Linked DNA regions of Homo sapiens: all the other regions are linked to region 1. Evidence: promoter capture Hi-C in 16 types of primary human blood cells and fetal thymus (Javierre and others, 2016). All regions are on one chromosome and are shown on one strand. Each heading gives the region's core, a stretch centred on a gene start or on the middle of the fragment in contact. The rest is flanking DNA. Distances are from core to core; before and after follow the strand shown. Region 1 holds the start of SYNCRIP (synaptotagmin binding cytoplasmic RNA interacting protein). Region 2 overlaps UBE3D (ubiquitin protein ligase E3D). Region 3 overlaps DOP1A (DOP1 leucine zipper like protein A). Region 4 overlaps DOP1A (DOP1 leucine zipper like protein A). Region 5 overlaps PGM3 (phosphoglucomutase 3). Region 6 overlaps RWDD2A (RWD domain containing 2A). Region 7 holds the start of ME1 (malic enzyme 1).

Region 1 (2,663 bases), core at 103-2,602:
GGCCAGGGACTGAAACGGAGTATTGCACAACCCTTCACCACCGGGCGGTTTCGCTTCCAAATCTGGCCTTCGTGTCATCCCAAGGCAGGAGCCGCTCCTCGCTCCACTGGAGCCAGCCCCGTTCCCCCTTCAAAAGCAGCCGGGGTTTCCGCGTCCAAGCCTGGGGCGCCCCTCCCTTCGCCGAAGGTTCCCGTGAAAGCGGAGCCGCGCGGCTGCGAGGAGGGCCCACTGTCCAGTTGGGGAGATCGAGTCTCCAAGGGCGACTCTCGCACTCGAGTACCGCCAGTCCGGCGGACCAAAGGTCCGCGGGTCTCCGCGCCGCTCCCCTCCCCCTTGGCCCCATTGTCTGCCTCGCCCCGCCCCGGGGGACACGTGCGCCTGCAGCTTCCCGAGGAGGAGAGCGCGGGGCGGTGGCAGCGGCGTGGACACCGCCTGGAACGGCTACGCGGCCGCGGAGCCGGGGGCGGGGGCCGGGCGCGCACAGACCGGTGGGTGCCCTCCGGGAAGCGGCAGTCGCACTCAGCGCCCACAGCACTCTGCCCCGCCAGCCCCGGACCGGGCAGGGATGGGGCGGGCGGGAGCTCGGTGGGGGTGGCGTGCGCATGGTGTCGCGGGGAGGGGGTGGGGTGGGGCGGGGTGGGGAGATGCCAGTCTCCTGACAAAGGAAAACGAGTGGGACACGCTGAGCCGGCCCGCCCCGCCTGGAGGGGAGAGGGAGGGGGAGTGTCGGGAGGGGAAGGGGCGGGCCTTTCATTCAGTCTCGGCCCCTCGGCCGCCACCGTCGGAGCGGAAGGGCGGGGTCTTGTGCCTCCCCCACCCCCAACCCAAGGGGTGAGGAGCGGGGAAGGCGGCGCGGCGTGGGGGCGGAGCCCGCGGGCGCGCGTCCCGAGGCGTAGGCTACGTTGTCACGTCAGCGCGGGAGAGAGAAAGAGAGGAGCCGACTCGGCAGGGACTGGGGGACCGGGCCGAGAGTGCGAGCGAGCGAGGGAGGGAGTGAGGGAGCGTGCGAGCCAGAAGGGGAAAGGCGGCCACTCGTGCCTGAGCGACCGCAGAGGGGAGTGGGAGCAGTGGGGTAAAGGAGCGGGGGGCGGGAATAAGAAAGGCCGAGAGAAGGCGGACAGAGGCTAGTGGTGGTGGTGGTGGTAGGGGGAGAAGGAGGAGCTGGAGGAGGGCAGGGGCTGAGGGAGTGAGTGAAGCGGACGCGCGAGGGAGGGGAGGGAAGGGAAGGGAAGGGAAGGGGGGGTCACGCGGGGGCGCGCGCGCGCACCGGGAGCGCGCTCGGAGGCGAGTGGAACTGGATCGGGTTTGCTGCCAGCGGCGTGAGCTTCGGCCGCCATTTTACAACAGCTCCACTCGCGCCGGACACAGGGAGCAGCGAGCACGCGTTTCCCGCAACCCGATACCATCGGACAGGATTTCTCCGCCTCAGCCCAACGGGGAGGTAACGACTGCCAGAACCTGGGTGTGGGAGGGGAGCTCCATGACATTGTGGAGTGAGCTGGGGGAGGGTGGCGCGGGTAGAAACCGGCTTTTCTGGAAAATGGATTCCAATGGGGAGAAGAGCACGTTGACTGGGGCTGCCTGGGAGTAGGCCGCGGCCCGCGCCGCCACTTCCTCCTTTCCATGTGCTGCTGCGGTTCGGGCTTTGTCTGCGGCGCTTTGGGAGGAGGCGCCTCCACGGTCCCGTGGCCCGCACGGACCGCGAGCGGCTTCAGAGTTGGTGCTGTCGTGGCGGTCGCCGCGGCGCGGGAGTGGGCGGAGAGGAGTGGGTCTTGTCCTGCAGCCGTGCGGCGAGCTTGGGCGGTGCTCACGGTCCCGCGGGCGTTGAGCCGTCCGCTGAACGCCCTCACGCTGCTGGGTTGCCGGGCAGGCGTCGCAGTCACTGCACGGAAGGGTAAGGGGTGGGGACCTGCACAGCGCGCCACGGGTCACGTCTCGGCCGGGCGGGCGGCCGGGGGTCGTCGGCGCCCGGGGAGCGCCAGGGGCGGAGAGCCATGTGTCACGGCGGAGACGGCGGCGCTGGGGGGCGGGGAGAGCCTGTGGCCTGGCGCCGCCGGTGCCTCGGTGTTCAGGGGAGAGATTGTGCTGCTGCAGCTTTCTGGGGGCTCCGACCGCGGCTTCGGGTTGATGTTGGGAACCAGTGATGGTCGTCTTGGTTTGGGATTCGTTGGGTTGCCGTTGAAGGAAGTTGTAGGACATTGGAAGGCGCAGAGCACGTGTTTCTAATGGGCTCCTGGCGGCCGCAGTGGTGAGACTGCCGCTCTGGGTGCGGAGTCAGGGGCGGGCTTTGGGGTGCGGGGTTAAAGGGTGGAGAAATTGGGTGGTGGGAAGGTGGCTTGTATGAGCGCTTTGTTCTTCGCTGGCTGTTGTTACCGATCTATAAGCGGCAGGCGGGAAAAGCGCGCACTTTGGGGGTTTATCTTTGAGAGAGAGGAGCCCAGTTTTGCTTTCTCCACACACACCTCATTTTCCGAACGGGCACAGCTGCATGTGGCACGCTGGCTCGTACCCGTGCTGATTGGGCTCTATTTGTAATATGGTTTTTCCTAGGGAGTGTTAGCAGGTGAGTCAGGGGTGGTGCTGAGGAAGAATATGGTGAATCGGTCCTTCTGTGCCCTGTGCTCCAAATCTGGCTTGTCAGGCGATAGTGACTGTAAGGCTTT
Region 2 (2,663 bases), core at 77-2,576, 2.6 Mb after region 1:
ACCATACATGGCTCATAAAGCCTAAAATATTTACTATCTGGTCTTTCACAGAAATAAAGTTGCTGACTCTTGTTTTAGAGGATCATTATTTCTTAAACACCATTTCTTGAAATTGAACTTTTGACTCAGGTTTGAAACTGTCATCCCTGCAAAAAACTCAGATGCTTAATATTCTGTATTGCTAACTAAGTGCAGATCCATATGCTTTGAAAAGGAACTAGCCAGAAAGTAGCTATAAGATTTTCTAAGGCAGATTTCTAAGGCCTAACCAAGATCCACACCTGAGCACATGGTCTACCCTCTGTACTCAGATGACACTCAAGCAAATGGCTTGCTGTCTGCACTTAGTTGACACCATGTGGATGACCTGCTGTCTGCACTTAAGAGGGAGCCATGGTACTTTGTACCTCTGTTGCATTGCTAAGCGTATTGCAGTTTCAGAGGAGGGTCATTTCCATAGATGCCTTTATCCCCTCTATACTTTTGATGCCTGGGGGCTTTTGACAGGGACTGTGTTTTACTCTTTATTGCCTATACTGAGTAATTTGTGTTTGCTCTGAATTGGATTAGTAAGTCCTTTCACACCTGATATTCATACATCACTGTATCGTTTTCTTCATTAATTCTTTTTATTCTTAAAATTGACAGGTTTTTGTCTTGTATCATTGTTTCACTGAATCTTGGTCTCTTTATTAAAATCTTGTATATGAAATAACAGTACTTTGCTCTGATTTACTATAAAACATTATTTTAGTGCTCTTCTCAGAAGGAAGAACCAAAAATCTGTCCCAGGACTTGCATATTATGGTGATGGTGAAGGGCACTCTGATCAGATCTAAATCTAGTGTAGGTTGCTTTCCTTTATGATCTGCTTGCTGCTGTTTTTCTGGGGCAGTGACTTTAGAGCTCCTATTGAAGAGGAAGAAAGAGATCCTTGGCCATTTTTGTTTCTTTCATCATGTGGTTTTCATTGTGAGAAATAATTTGTTTGGGTTTTGTTTTTAATTACCAGAGAACCGAAAGAAGGAGGTATGCCCATGAATATTTCCATAATGCCATCTTCACTCCAGATGAAAACCCCTGAAGGCTGCACAGAAATCCAGCTTCCAGCAGAGGTCAGGCTTGTACCTTCCTCTTGCCGTGGGCTACAGTTTGTTGTTGGAGATGGACTGCACCTGCGACTGCAGACGCAAGCAAAATTAGGCACAAGTGAGTAATATTAGCACTTCTGCTGCTGTATTTACCTTTTTGTTATAAACCAAAGGTGATTTTTCCTTTGATAAGTTGAACTTTTCCCAGGTGAAGGGGTTGAGAAGCTCTAGGGTCTTTGTCAGCTCTGCCAGTTATTGGCTGTATGCAATTGAACATGTTACTTAACCTTTCTGAGGCTTCTTCCCTCCCTCCCTTCCTTCTTTCTTTTCCACCCACAGCAAAATTGAGCAGAAAGTATAGAGATTTCCCATTTACCCACTGCCTTGTTTCTTTAATTGTAAAATTTTCTGGCTCACAGATGGGAAGATTAAATCAGATGGCAGTTGTATAAGACCTGATTGATTTTAAAGCATTACATGGAAATTTATTCATTCAACAAATATTTTGGTTTGTGCTATGTGCTAGGCATCAATCTAGGTTCTGGGGATACAGAGTGAACAAGGTAGGGGAGGTGTCTGCTCTCATGGAGCTTACATTCTAATTGGTGGGAGCAGATAATGAGCAAACAATTTAAATATTAAGAAAAGTGTTATGATAATATAAAACAGAATAATGGGATAGGGAGTGACTAGGGTTGGCTGAAGGATGATCAGTGAAGGCCACTCTGAGGAGGTAATGTTTGACCTGAGTCCTGAATAAGGAAATCCTATCCATGTGGGGACTGTTCCAAATAGAGAAAACAGTACACAAAAGGTCCTACAGTTGAGTTTGATACTTAATTTGATTTTAACTTTTACTATGCCTGTTATATTTACAACATTTTGTAACTGGTATAATGATTCGGTAAGGCAGTGGAAAATTTGCTTTTTCTAAGACCTCAGGGTTATTTATTGTATAAAATTATTGGTTCATTACATCTATTACAATGTACGTAATATATGCTTTGGGGGATTAAAATTATGTCAAAGGGGGAAATAGGCTGTAAAAGACTTATGTGATGTTTATTATCAGAGAAAGATTGTAATTCTTTCAGCTGCACACTGACACTTCGCTGCTGCCTCATCTGTAATAAACCTTTCATCTGCGCTGTGTGGATCCTGGAGATGGGGTCAGGAGGAGTGTTTGGAAGAGCCATTTAGGAGATGTTGAGTATTCCCCTGAGTCTGTGCTCTTGGCTTTTGTGAGGAAAGAGAAGATAGAGAGGGTTTCATTTCTTTTTTACTGGAGAGCAATTTTTGCTCAAGTCCTGGGTTAGTGAATAACTAGTTTGAGTTGGGCAGGGTTAGTTTTAGGAACAAAGGGTAGGGAAAAGAGATGTCATGGCACTTAAATGTTGTAGGATAAATACTAGGAATGACTGTTGGAATAACCATAGCAAGAAGGTTAGGGTCACCGAGCTGGGAAGTAGACTCCCTGATTGCACCTAATAATGGGCAGAGAAAGTGTTGTTTCAGGGAAGAGGCCATGGGAGGCTGGATGTTGTGTTGTCATCACCTTCTCCTTCACAACAG
Region 3 (2,663 bases), core at 123-2,622, 2.6 Mb after region 1:
GAGGCCACAGTGAGGTGAGATCACACCACTGCACCCCAGCCCGGGCAACAGAGTGAGACTCTGTCTCAAAAAACAAACGAACAAACCAACAGTTGTTTGTAAATGTGTGGAATTATTTCTGGGCTCTCTATTCTGTTCCATTAGTCAGTCTGTCTGTTCTTATGCCAGTTCCATGTTATTTTGGTTACAATAGCTTTGTAGTATATTATGAAGTCAGGTAGTAGAACACCTCCAGCTTTGTTTTTTTGCTCAAGATGGCTTTGGTTATTTGGGGTCTTTTGTGGTTCCACAAAATTTTAGGATTTTCTTTTTTCTATTTCTGTGAAGAATGTCATTGGTCTTTTGATAGGAATTGTATTGAATCTGTAGATTGTTTTGGGTGACACAGACATTATAAAACAGGGATTTTAATTCAATAAATGGCCGTGGTGAACCTATATACAAGGGGAACTATATACAGAACATAAAAGACAACAATCTATTCCTCCCTAGAAAATAATTCCTAAGAGGTAAAAATGCTCTGAAGTGGGATGAAATACTACAGAGGTACTGCAGGTTGGGTTACACATCCAAAAACAGTATTACAGATGTGGCTGTCCCCAAATTTAGGATGTGCAGGGCTGATGACAGGATTCTTGCTGGATTAGCAGTATGCTTTAGTGCACAAATTCTATTATTAAGCACCTAAGGGATGCTTTATAGGACCTACTAAAGACAGGTTTTTTCTCTTGGCAAAGGGAGATATAATTCCTGAGGGTTATTAGTTATGAGGGGACAAAATGATAGTTCAGAAAACAAATATATCAAGGAAGTTTTCCTTATTTTGATGAAACCTGTGAACATCACTGATAGTTTAATATTCTGGTTTAGTCATATATCATTGTATTAACAGTATCTATAGAAAGAAGTAGTTGTGTGGATAATGTAAAACAGAATCCCAAACAACTAAATTTTGCTTTTAGGATATATCTGCTTTTTTCAAACATATCTTTCTAATGTTTTGTTTTTCCTAACATTAAAATGTTTGATTTCACTGTGTATACATTGATTGGGTAGGGGGAAATGAAACAAACATTTTAGATGGCAGGGGAAAAAAAATCAGCCTAAGAGTAAATATCAGAATAGTACACTTAAAGAACATCTAAATTATCTAGATTGACCACATTCTGTTTTGCTTTTATTAATAGTTTGGAAGAAGAAAGAAAACATGGCTTATTTTTTATATACAGCAGAAGGTAAGACATGAGAATAATGATAAAAATGAATGCATTGCTATTCAGAATGATTAGAGAGGTGAAACGCAAGATGAGGAATAACTAACTGTTAACTATCCCACCATGTATTTCTTTCCAGCTTATTTGAAACATAAATTTTCATCAGAAAGTACCTTTCTCAAAGTATCTTTATTTGTAGCTATCATTCTTCATTTAATGACAATGATTTTGCTTAAACTTTTACATATGCTAAAACATACTACTAGAAATAAAGTGAAATAAGCAAAAATAATTTTTACAGCATAATTAAACCCATATTAAGTTAATCAAATCATTATTTGCAAAATAAAATCTAACCAATATATTTAAAAATTAGTAATTTAACGTTTTCAGCATTTAAAAAATAAATAGTATGCTATTAACTTACTACAGAGTTGGATTTTCAAATAAAGACTGGTTTTTACATAAGTTAACATAACAATGCCGTACTATACATACTAGCCAAACATTTTTCTATACTTCCTAGTGTGTTCCAATTTAACTGAATATCTGTAAACAAATTTTAATCACAGCCAGTAGAAACAAATTTTTCCCATTAAAAAAAATCCCATGGAATTTTAACGTTTTTCTTTGCCCATTTTATTAAGACTGTTCCAAAAGTAAAATCATAAGAAAAAGCACACATGCAAAAAAATTCACTGAGATGCAAATTCAATCATGCCTATGTATTTAAAAGATAAGATCAAAATATTACACAGGAAGTCACCAACACTTTAGCTGAGTACTTTTATTTAAAGATGCTTTTTTAAAAAAGGGTTCACCCTGGACACAGACCATGCATGTATCTGTGCACATCAGTTTCCAAAATCTGTGAAAGAATGGTGACAGAAAGTAGCCTTGCACAAGGGTTAACTCCCTTGATGGACAAAGTAAACTAGAATTAATGTTGAGGATATCAAGATACTTTACAGAGAAAAATGGGGTACAGCCTACAGCAGACCTTCCCCCAGCTCCTACAACCCTTCAATGTCCATCCCCTCTCATGTTTTAAGGTTAAGATGGTAACAAAACAACAATATTAATAATGCTCATCATGAAAGAACAAAATAACTTTGCTGAGGTGTTAATTCTGTAAGAGAGAATTAACTCTAGATATTTTTGCAGATTCTGAAGCACGTAATAGAATAAGAACCAAAATAAGGTATTGCTTAATTATTGTAAAAAATCTCTACAAAACATAGGCACCCTCCAAAATACTGATAAACCATAAACTGTTACTACACCTCTCCTCACTTTCCATTTCACAGTACCTCTGTTGTCAGAATATCACTCCAAGAAATGCTGTAAAGTCTGTCAAGCACTGCTATTATTTTCTGAATTTCCTTGTTTTCCTTCATTACTGTCAACAGCACCATCATCTTCCTAATTACACAAGTTTGTACTTGTGCG
Region 4 (2,663 bases), core at 80-2,579, 2.5 Mb after region 1:
GCCTCCCAAAGTGCTGGGATTACAGGCGTGAGCCACCACACCCGGCCACAATGTATTGTATTCTTAAAAACTGCTCAGAGTACATTTTAAGTGTTCTCACTGTAAAAATTAATTGTGTGAGGTAATGAATGTTAATTAGCTCCATTTACAGATTCCAGAATGTATACATATTTCAAACATCATGTTGTACAGGATCAATATATACAATTCATGTCCATTAAAAAATAAATTTAAAAAAGAAGTTGCTTCTTGATTACAATTGATATCACCATCTATTTCTAATATGAAAAAAAGTCTATTATAATCTCAAAGGTGTAAGTACTACAGATTTGGGTGAGCTTTCCAGGAAACAAGTTAAAGAAGTGTAGCAGTCCATCCCACTGCTGAAGTTCCTAACAACTATCATCCTTTTGGGATATGGTAATGAAGGCACTGTTAAGTCACAATTATAATACAATCCATACTTGGATTGTATTCTATTATATGTAAGACATAGAAAGAGGGAAAGTGGAACACTAAGGTACCTACGTCATAATCCTTATTCAGTTTGGTACAGTAATAGGGAGAACTATATTAGAATTTGGTAGCATAGTGGGGAGAAAAGTATTAGAATTATAAGATTATTAGAACTGGGTGTATACTTTTAAAAAACACATTCAACGAAGCTATTGTTTCCATAATACATATTATAGAATATAAGAATCTAGAACATTTTGGCTGGCAGGAATACAGAAAAGGCAGAGTAAGAAAGTACAGGCTGAGAAAAGCTTAGGAAACGCTGATATATTAAGATTACAAATTAAGTTATTCTTGAGTCTACTATGACTTAATTCCTCAGATCTTGTTGAGACATCTGTCAATTGAGGGCCTAATGATGTTGAATGTTTGGAAAGTAAGAAAGCAATGGGAAAAGTTCAAGAGGAAAGTCAATAAATTTTTTGGATAAAGATCCAGACAGTACATAATTTAGACTTTCAGATCACATACATTGCTTTGGCATATTCTTCTTTGTTTTCTAAGTGTTTAAAAAAACATAAATCTTTCTTAACTTATGAGCTGCTGTTTGGCCATCCCTATAATAGAGCATTGGTAAATTTAGATTACGCTGAGATGACTCAACAGTTGTTTTTGTGAAAAGCCAGAGGGCAGAATAAAGTCCCTTGGTTGAAGGGTGAAAGTCTCAAAATAGAAACAGAGTGGTTTATGTTCCAATTAGTCAAAGTATAGACAAGGAAGAGTAGAATTATTTAGTTATTAATATTTCAATATCAAATTAAATAAGTAAAAGAAAAATGTTAATAAAATAATGAATAAAAAATTGGCCAGTCATAATGCAAATTCACTACAGTTATCTATTAATCACAGTTCTTATGAAAACCTCAAATAATAGTCCTTTTTAGGAATAAATTTACTTTTCCAAGGTAGATATTCTCTATATCTTATTACTTTTGTTAGGTATGTAGTTCCACCATTCTGAATGCCTATATACTGGTGCTGTAAATCACTCTTCATCAAGGTTTATAAGTCAAAGGAATTTAGATCCTTTCTTTTAAAATGAGGGCACTGATTAAATTAAGTTCTAGGAATGAACTTCATTTATTATTTGTCAACTTAGTTGCACTTATTTGTAATAAAAGTACTATAGAATATCACAGTGGCTAAACATGTGGCTCTTAAGTTATAGTCAACTCTGCCAAGGGTCTGGCATGCATGTTAAAATCACCAAAACAAGATAACATAACACCAGTACAGATGATGGCTGGGTCTCAGTCTTGGCTTACTCAGAGTTAGCAATAGAGAACCTCTTGCTTTTTATATGTTACAACTTTTTTCAAAAGTATGAAATAATCTACTTCAATGACCATATTCTTATCAAATCAGTGAAGCTTTTATCTTTAGTTTTTTTTCACAACAAATTCCACTCCTTAAGAAGGAACTTATTTTCCATGCGCTTACTGATTTATACAAGAAGAATTCAACACACATGCCTTTAAAAAATAACTACACATTATCAATCTACAGTTTTCCAAGAATGCCTTATAATAACATCGGCGTTAATATTTTACCTGACTCATGTGGAATGGAAAACAGAAGAGTATGAGGTCCAGTGTGCTTCTCTGTACAAGTACACTTGAGTCCTGCACTGAAGTACTTACTGCTTCTACCTGAAATAACAGCATCTTTAACATCTATTGTCTATTATGCTGAGACATTTTTGCCACGAAAATGTGACAACTCTTTATTTTCTCGAAAGTATGCTTCTGAGGATCTAATCAATAATTAAAGATATTTACATTATTTTGAATAGTATATATATAATGATGGTTTAAAAATTAAGAAGTACGTAAGACTATACAGCAAAACTTCCAACTATCCAACTTCTGTTTTGTAGGCACCAGTTTTACTAGTGAATATTTCCTGTAAATACAAGAAAAACACCATATATATATATATTCCAAACCTGCCTTTTTCATTTAACATGTTTTAGAGATCTTTCCTTGTCATTAAAGAGCTTCATTTCTTAATGGCCAAAGTATTTTATTTCATAAATGAACTCTAATTTATTTAACCAAGCTTCTAATCATGTGCACTTATACATTTCTAAACACTACTGTAAATAATGTTGCAATATATAATACTTACATTACATCTGTAAGATAAAT
Region 5 (2,663 bases), core at 89-2,588, 2.5 Mb after region 1:
CTTGTTAGCACACAGATTCCTGGGCTCCACTTCTGAGTTTCTGGAGGTCTGGCATAGGATTTGCATATGATAGAAATTTGCATTTCTATCAAGTTTGCAGGCTTTGTTCCCAGTGCTTGTCTGGGGATCCCTTTTTGAGAATCACAGATCTACAGGGGAGCATAGTAAGTATTATTAGATACCTTATCTGAATTAAATACACTATGGAAAGCAAATGTAACTCTGCTTATACAGTTGTTAGCAATCAGTGTTTTCCACTCAGTGCAGAATAGGAGGAAGACTTTTCTTCAGATTTTAGTTGTAGTAAGAGGTGTTCTGGATTTATCTGCATTATAGACCCTAAATTATTTGCTTAGGCCAAACCTGACTTGCAGATATGTTTTGTTTGGCTGGCTGCATTTGTGTGTTTGTCTGTGTGCCACTGTTTAAAAATTCCGTGACTTCTCTTATATATTGGAATCTCTAGCATCTCTTTACCAAAATCAGAAAATGTTCACACATGGCATTAGTCCACTACAGTCAGATAGATGCTGCTCCCCTAAAATAGGACATGCATTCTGGAACTCTACAGACTTCATCCAGTTGCCTCATTCATTCATGTTATTATGCTTTACTTAGTAAGCATTTAAAATGTCAGTGTAGTCAACCAATTTGAGCTCCTTTTCATTGAATTGCTTGTTTTGACATTTACTTGACAGTTCAGTTCTGCCACTTATTTATCCATTTCTTAAATACTGAGCTCTTACTCTCTATGCTCTAGGCTTTGGGACTACAGTATGAACAAAACCATAGTCCTTGCTTTCCTGAAGCTTGCATCATGTCCTTTCATCAATCTTATGATCCCATTCCTGACAAAAGCCTTTTACTTCTTAGTTGTCTCATGTTGAATTTGTCACTCTGCTGCTGTCATGGCTAAGGAATAGCCAAATTTTCTAATAAATTTGATGTGACAATTGCTGAGATTTCAGCAACTTTATGTAAATTTCACAGGCCAGTTATCTCTCAAAGTTATAATTCTTTGCTCTTAATTATCAGTGTTTCTTTTTATTGGTGGTATGAACAAATAAAAATCATTTCTGTTAGAATTAAAGCACATACATCATCTAGTGCTGATTATTTTTTCTATGTAAAGGAGATCACGGTCCTAGGTAAATTACATTCAGAAATACATGTAGCTTTCAAAAAACCTTTATGGGACACCTGTCTAGCCAAACCAACCTGCTTATAAAGTGGAATTTTATGGTAGTATTATAGCAAATATCAGCATAGATTTTGAATGCTCCTTTTTTCACTTTGCAGTGAAAGAATTTGACCTGTAAAAACCACTAATAAACTATGTACTATTTAAAGATTATACACTATTTAAGATTAAGACATTGATTTTTAGGTGGATAATTTTAAGAGAAAATTCTAAAACTCTTTATAATAAATTCTTAGACTGAAATGCATGTTAAATTATCCTGTGTGCTAGGAATGGAAATTAAGTCCAATGAAAGATGCTGTTCTTTTGATGGAGATGCAGACAGAATTGTTTATTACTACCATGATGCAGATGGCCACTTTCATCTCATAGATGGAGACAAGATAGCAACGTTAATTAGCAGTTTCCTTAAAGAGCTCCTGGTGGAGGTATGGTGGGGGGATTGGCTACCCTCTAAAACAAGACTTAGTAGTGAAATAGTTCCATATTTTACAATCATTTGTCAGAAGGGCACAATTTATGACAAATTCTTTACATTAGTGGGCAGAAAATTAAAAAAAGAGCAGTGGTAATACCCAGTCATTTGAACATTTGAGGCATTGGCTTTGGAACCTGAAGGTACTCTTTTCCTCCTTATACTGGCTGAGTTTTGTGATTTGAAGCTTTAGGAAGTTTTGCTTCCATCATAATTGAAACTTTGATGACAGTTCTGTGGTCACTCCATAAAAGCCCTAAATTCTAATAGGAAATCTCATCATCTGATATATTAACTGATTATGATAAGCTTAGTAATGTGAGATTTGTTTCATTTTGCTATTTTAGAAATAAATCTCAGGCTAGCTTTAAGTACACAATGTAATTGGAAATTATTATAATCTGGAAACAGCATACTTTAAGAATTTAATAGATTTTTTTTTTTTTTTTTTTTGAGACAGTGTTGCTCTGTTGCCCAGGCTGGAGTGCAGGGGCGTGATCTCGGCTCATTGCAACCTCTGCCTCCCTGGGCTCAAGCAATTCTTCTGCCTCAGCCTCCCAAGTAGCTGGGATTACAGATGCATGCCACCACACCTGGCTAATTTTTGTACTTTTAGTAGAGATGGGGTTTCACCATGTTGGCCAGGCTGGTCTCGAACTTTTGACCTCAGGTGATCCACCCACCTTGGCCTCCCAGAGTGCTGGGATTACAGGCGTGAGCCACCGTGCCTGGCCAGATACTTTTATTTAAAAAATTAAAGAGGTGAAGATCAGGAGATACAGGCTTCTTAAAAGAGGAATTCTCATAGAATTGTTTTAAATAGTGTTCAAATGTATTTTAGGCTTTTTTCCTGGCATACATGTAAATTTTCAGTCAGACATTTTTGGCATAAACTAAGGCACAACTGAACTGGCTGATAATTTTGGTAGCCTTTAGAACTCTCATTATATTTGTTTTTGTAGACCATACTTTTGATGGCAAGTTAAG
Region 6 (2,663 bases), core at 105-2,604, 2.4 Mb after region 1:
CTAAAAATACAAAAATTAGCCAGGCGTGGTGGCATACACCTGTAATCCCATCTACTTGGGAGGCTGAGGCATGAGAATCACTTGAATCCGGGAGGCAGAGTTTGCTTTGAGCTGAAATTGGGCCACTGCACTCCACCCTGAGTGACAGAGCGAGAGAGCAAGACTCCGTCTCAAAAAAATAGAATGGCTGCACATATTCCGAAACTTAAGCAGATGGTGATTCCAACTGCAGCTGCTGTCATATAAGTTCTTTTTTCTTGGAGCAAATCAGAAAGTAGCTGGCTACTGATTTGGTCAATGCTTTTTTGTTTTTCCTTTATTCCAGTAAGTAAAGACCACTTGAAGCATTTTCTTTATCTCAGTAAGCAGCAATGTAGATTGTCTTTTTCCAACATTACATTAACTTTCTATGTCAGAATATCAGTCTCGATATCAGACCTTTGATCAGCTTACCACTATACAGGGCAGCATGCTGTATGCCTCCAGGTGATATTCTGATTGGACTTGGAGAATGGAGTCATGTTTCCTGGATGCCTAGTAAGATGTGTCATCCCAGAGGGTGAACGATAAATCCCATGAAAGCACAGAGCCTGCAGCCAAGTTTTGTAGAAGTCCAGTGTCTGGTACATGCTGGGATTTCCCCTTCATTGTGAGGAACAAATTGTGTACTTTGTTCCTTCTATAACTAAGGAGAACTCCCAGGGTTTGGTGGGTGATATGGTTTGGCTGTGCCCCTATCCAGATCTCACCTTGAATAGTAATAATCCCCATGTGTCAAGGACAGGACCAGGTGGAGATAATTGAATCATGGGGGTGGTTTACCCCATACTTCTCGTGGTAGTGAATAAGTGTCACGAGATCTGGTGGCTTCATAAAGGGGAGTTCCCCTACACAAGATCTCTTGCCTGCCCCTATGTAACATATCCCTATGCTCTTCCTTCGTCTTCTGCTGTGATTGTGAGGCCTCCCTAGCCATGTGGAACTGTGAGTCCATTAAACCTCTTTCCTTTATAAACTACCCAGTCTCGGGTATGTCTTTATTAGCAGCATAAGAATGAGCTAATACAGTGGGCTTACTTAAATTCTGTGTACCCTGCTCAAATTCATTCGGGGGTTGACCCAAATGCATCTAGTTTTGACTGGGATCAGAAAGAGAGGTCTCTCTAGCTGGTCCAGGCTATGGTGAAATTAGTTCCACCATGTGGACCTTATGAGGGAAAGCCAATGGGCTCAGAGTTTCTGTGGCAAATCAGGATTATGTATAAAACCAGGAAGTGTGAGCAACACTGTGCCCTCTTCAGACAATAACTATTCTTTTGACTTACTACTGGGCTACTTGAGATAAAAGCAAGTGAAAAAAACCTGTTCAAAAGGGTTCCATGAAGGCTGCAGACAGACACCATCAGAACCTTCTCAGGTTCTGAGAGGGGATGGATGGCATGTAAGGAGTTATATGTGAACGCTCAAGTTCACAGGCAATGTATGTTTGATTTAATAAGGAATGTTTTAGAGGTCCCTGTGTTGTGGTCTGCCAACTCATCTGGCCTACTCAATTCACTATGCAGGTGTCCTCAGCTCTTAGCCTAACACATAATAGACCAGTAAGGAATGAAAAGCAAAGAACATACTTGACGATATGCTTCATTTACTTCAGCAAACTTTAAAAAGACACTGTAACTTTTATAAATGAGCACATTTTCCAAATAACCATTTAAGAATATAATAAACAGAATATCCAGATTCTTAAGTTACAAGCAATAGAGACTGATTCTGATTTCCGACAACAAAAGGGAAGATGCTGGGTCATTCAAAGGAAATGCCAAACAGCTGAGCATTCAGTAGGTCAGAAATGAGGGTGGCACTAGAGGTTTAAGCAGCAAGAGCTCACAGCCATCTCTCCAGGAGGCTGCCAGAGGACAACTTGATTCCTATCACTTTCTCTTCCCAAATCACACAGGGAAGGGGCAGTTTCCCAAAATAAGCTGTGTGTGTAGGGGGAGGGGGTTGGGGAATGACGGACTTTTATTATGTGCTCATATCAGGCTGTGCAAACAACCAGCAGACTCCTATACATACAAAGTTGAGTTTTGAATTATACATGTACTTTTTTTTTCTATAAAACCTACACGTCCCCATAATACTATCTGCATTAGTTTTCCTGATAGGAAAAAAAGTATTGCAGAATGCTCAAATTAGACTTATTTATAAAAAAGTAGGTTCTGAAAAATCTCAGAAATAGCTCCAGAAGCAGTAGAGTTCATAACCTAGAATTTATTGCCTTTTCTTTACACCCATCTTTCTGTAGCTACTTTTGCTCATGTAATCAGGAAAAACACCTCTATAAGGTAGGTTGATGGCACATATTGATTCATTTGGATGGAGTTACATCTGTTGAAGGCCTAAAACTTGTAAATGCGAATTATACTTATTGATAGCTTTGTGGAGACTGTGGGGGAAAAAGATTCCTATACTTTGTTGTTTTTAGTGCTGGCAAACATTAAGAAGTGATTCCTTGGCAATGTAAGTCCTATTTCTTCCCTTTGCATATAGGCAAAGTGTCAGGCTCCAGCCTGAGTTCCAGCACAACCAAGGCTAGGATGGAAACATGAATGGCAAGCTGGAGGACCTGGCGGGGCAGGCCTACAGCGAGCCATGGGTTGAAG
Region 7 (2,663 bases), core at 45-2,544, 2.2 Mb after region 1:
CTGTGATTGGATGTGTGTCTAGTATATGGAGATATAAAATCAGCAAATAATCTCAAACACTATCCTTTGTAATATCAGTATGCAGAGACAAATGGGACAGAAACTAGCAATCCTATTTAACTGAAAAGGAAACTGGGGCACAGAAGGCTTTAGTGTCTGTTGCTATTAATTTATTTTTATCAGACAGGCACTCCTTTTGGCTATGATCTGACTATTCCTCCAGTCCATGAACCTCCAAGCATAAATATCAATAAAACAATAAAAAAATGGCCCGGCGCGGTGGCTCACACCTATAATCCCAGCACTTTGGAAGGCGGAGGCGGGCGGATCACCTGAGGTTGGGAGGAAGGCCTGAAAGACTGCTTACTCATCATTATTCAGAGAGAGCAGTGGTTCTTGAACATCAGGTTTCTAGAACTCCCAGAGAAATAATATACAAGATAAACAGGACTGTTCATTGGGCCTTTGCACCCTAACACCTTGACTCTTATCTTATTGACATTCAAATACAATTCCGGTGGAAAATCTGTAGAAACTGACAGGTGTGGCGCCTGAGCTCTCCTCTCTGGGCTTCCTCCCAGTTCCCTTGGGCCTCGGCATTCTGGGTCAAGGTTGGTTCCCTCCGGCCTCAGGGCCCCGGGCATGGCCGGCATCCTGGATGGCACGGCGAAGGTTGTGGATCTGTAGAAAGAGGGCTTCCAAGACGCTAACAAGACAGGAGAGACGAGTCTGATTCTCCTCAGCCTGTCGAGGTGTTCTGTCAACAGTTCTGGGGACCCCTCACGAGTCCTTCCGTCCTGTAATCCCCCTAGGTGTCTGAGCGACCGCCGGCTCTGCCTGAACCGCTCAGGTTCGCACCTTCTGGCATCTTCTCGCACTTTCTCCAGCCTTCCCGGGCAGGGGGATCCTGGCCTGACGCTCCCCGCTCCCTGCCCCCGCCCTGGGTCTCTGGGGTCAGCAGAGCCACCCAGTGCACTGCGTTTAGGCATGCCCACATGGAGAGAGGCGACCACAGCGGTGATCATAAGCCCATGGTGGGCAGAGGCCCTATGGAGCCAAGGGCTCCGGCCGCCACCCCCGCTCCGCCACCAGCAGCGCTGCCAGGACTCGCTCTTCCTCCTCCTCCTCACACGCCGGCTCGGATGATCTCCTGCCATGACTCAGCGCTTCTCGCAGGCTGCCCTGCTGGGGACACCGGCTTCGCTCGGGCCCCTCCCGACGCGTCCACCCCCTCTCGCCACCCACGCCCGCCCCCAGCCGCTGGGCCTTTCCCAGTGCGGCCGCCGCCGCCACAGCTGCAGTCAGCACCGTCACCCCAGCAGCATCCGCCGCCTGCACCGCGCGTGCGGCCCGCCCCGGCCTGACCCCGCCGCCGAACCCGGCGCCAGCCATGGAGCCCGAAGCCCCCCGTCGCCGCCACACCCATCAGCGCGGCTACCTGCTGACACGGAACCCTCACCTCAACAAGGTAAACCCGCAGGCCCACCTGGCCGCCCATCGGCCCCTCTCTATCAGGGTCAGGGCCCTCTTGCAGGTCCCCGCACCATGGCCTCGCCCCTCCGCCGCTCCCCTGGGAAGGTTCCCGGTGAGCGGCCGCGGCCTGGGGGGCCTTGGTGTGGGCAGAAGGAAGAAGGACGCCTAATCGGGTCCGTATCCACTAGAGTGATGGCAGGGCAGTGCTGGTGCCTCTGCACCTCGGCATCCCATGTTAGGGATAGAGGTAAAGGTAAAGGTTAGTGATAGAGGAAAAGGTGATACTTTTCGGCAGCTCTTCTCCAAAAACAAGAGCCCAGACAATGAAAGTAGTATCAGACAAAGTGTGTGAATGGAGTGCCAGGTCAGACTCCATGTGCCACTCACTTACTGGTTGCACACACAGTGTGGCAATTATTGGAAGTTGATAAGGCGAGAAGTGGCTCAACTGGTCCTGCCCAGACAGAAACGTGTACTGAGTGCCTTCAGATCACGTTAGCAATCTGGAAATCCAAGTCCTCTCGGTTTCTGGAGTGACACGGTTAAGAGTCTGGGAATGCGTGGTGGGTGGCCTCTGTCTTGGACACTTTGCATGGCTTGGTAGAAGAACTCTGTCCCAGACATGGGACTGTGGGTAAAGCCATTTCTTTTCTTTCTTTCTTTTGTTTTGTTTTGTTTTGTTTTGTTTTTAATTTGGCTTTCTGGAAGTTAAAAAAAAATTTTGTTTAGAGCTGCTCTCTTTTTATTAAAGGGGAATTCAGTGTACACCCTGTTCAGAGACTCCTTTTCGGATCCTGGTAACATTTCATTTTCCTTCACTGGTGATGCAATATAAGCACTCGGGATGTCTCTCAAATAAAAAATACCTCCGAATTTATCATTTTGCTTCCACACTTATTTTACAGCCAGGTTTGTCTCGGGATTGTTCCTTTTGTGTGTGTGTGTGCGTGCGCTTTGGACATTTCCTATTTATTCAGGAGTCTGAAAATGCCATCAGTCAGCACAGAGGTTTGTTTAGTTATTTTGGTTGTCTCTTTGGTGGACTGCATTTCACATTAAGAACAGAAGCTCAGCTTTTTCCTTGTCGTGTTCCTGATGATTTGTTGATCATATTAATGACTTAAAGACATGATTTATTTAACAAGTTATAGTCAGTGTGAGTGATTTTTTTTGTGTGTGTGGTGACAGGC

What was found. Contacts are between HindIII fragments. The CHiCAGO score rates a contact against its expected background, and 5 or more counts as called.
Region 2: a contact is called between a fragment that was not itself captured here and the fragment with the promoter of SYNCRIP in region 1, in 4 of 17 cell types (naive CD4 T cells, total B cells, total CD8 T cells and 1 more). The highest score is 9.8, in naive CD4 T cells.
Region 3: a fragment that was not itself captured here is called in contact with the fragment with the promoter of SYNCRIP in region 1 in 1 of 17 cell types (total B cells); the score reaches 6.9 in total B cells.
Region 4: a contact is called between a fragment that was not itself captured here and the fragment with the promoter of SYNCRIP in region 1, in 1 of 17 cell types (total B cells). The highest score is 6.6, in total B cells.
Region 5: a contact is called between a fragment that was not itself captured here and the fragment with the promoter of SYNCRIP in region 1, in 2 of 17 cell types (non-activated CD4 T cells and naive B cells). The highest score is 8.5, in non-activated CD4 T cells.
Region 6: a contact is called between a fragment that was not itself captured here and the fragment with the promoter of SYNCRIP in region 1, in 3 of 17 cell types (neutrophils, fetal thymus and non-activated CD4 T cells). The highest score is 6.3, in neutrophils.
Region 7: a contact is called between the fragment with the promoter of ME1 here and the fragment with the promoter of SYNCRIP in region 1, in 1 of 17 cell types (M0 macrophages). The highest score is 7.6, in M0 macrophages.

The regions. Positions count from the first base shown.
Region 1 is chr6:85,641,575-85,644,237 of GRCh38, reverse strand. It overlaps SYNCRIP (synaptotagmin binding cytoplasmic RNA interacting protein), which reads left to right and starts at 1,352. Exons shown (of 11, transcript NM_006372.5): 1 at 1,352-1,441. RefSeq lists silencers at 273-1,292, 1,883-2,032, 2,253-2,302. The HindIII fragment of the contact is 3,992 bases long and covers 1-2,663 here.
Region 2 is chr6:83,056,372-83,059,034 of GRCh38, reverse strand. UBE3D (ubiquitin protein ligase E3D) reads left to right here. Exons shown (of 10, transcript NM_198920.3): 2 at 1,013-1,209. Among named protein-coding and RNA genes, the nearest start is that of UBE3D, 8.1 kb to the left of the region's middle. The HindIII fragment of the contact is 7,857 bases long and covers 1-2,663 here.
Region 3 is chr6:83,078,544-83,081,206 of GRCh38, reverse strand. All of the region lies in intron 1 of DOP1A (DOP1 leucine zipper like protein A), which reads right to left. Among named protein-coding and RNA genes, the nearest start is that of DOP1A, 12 kb to the right of the region's middle. The HindIII fragment of the contact is 3,746 bases long and covers 1-2,663 here.
Region 4 is chr6:83,112,825-83,115,487 of GRCh38, reverse strand. It overlaps DOP1A (DOP1 leucine zipper like protein A), which reads right to left. Exons shown (of 39, transcript NM_015018.4): 7 at 2,067-2,165. Among named protein-coding and RNA genes, the nearest start is that of DOP1A, 46 kb to the right of the region's middle. The HindIII fragment of the contact is 1,119 bases long and covers 770-1,888 here.
Region 5 is chr6:83,178,776-83,181,438 of GRCh38, reverse strand. It overlaps PGM3 (phosphoglucomutase 3), which reads left to right. Exons shown (of 13, transcript NM_015599.3): 7 at 1,472-1,629. Among named protein-coding and RNA genes, the nearest start is that of PGM3, 13 kb to the left of the region's middle. The HindIII fragment of the contact is 1,054 bases long and covers 812-1,865 here.
Region 6 is chr6:83,197,898-83,200,560 of GRCh38, reverse strand. RWDD2A (RWD domain containing 2A) reads right to left here. Exons shown (of 3, transcript NM_033411.5): 3 at 1,626-2,663. Among named protein-coding and RNA genes, the nearest start is that of RWDD2A, 5.9 kb to the right of the region's middle. The HindIII fragment of the contact is 3,139 bases long and covers 1-2,663 here.
Region 7 is chr6:83,429,682-83,432,344 of GRCh38, reverse strand. It overlaps ME1 (malic enzyme 1), which reads left to right and starts at 1,294. Exons shown (of 14, transcript NM_002395.6): 1 at 1,294-1,468. The coding sequence starts at 1,391. RefSeq lists enhancers at 1-1,078, 1,021-1,190, 1,811-2,080 and a silencer at 1,401-1,590. The HindIII fragment of the contact is 4,994 bases long and covers 1-2,663 here.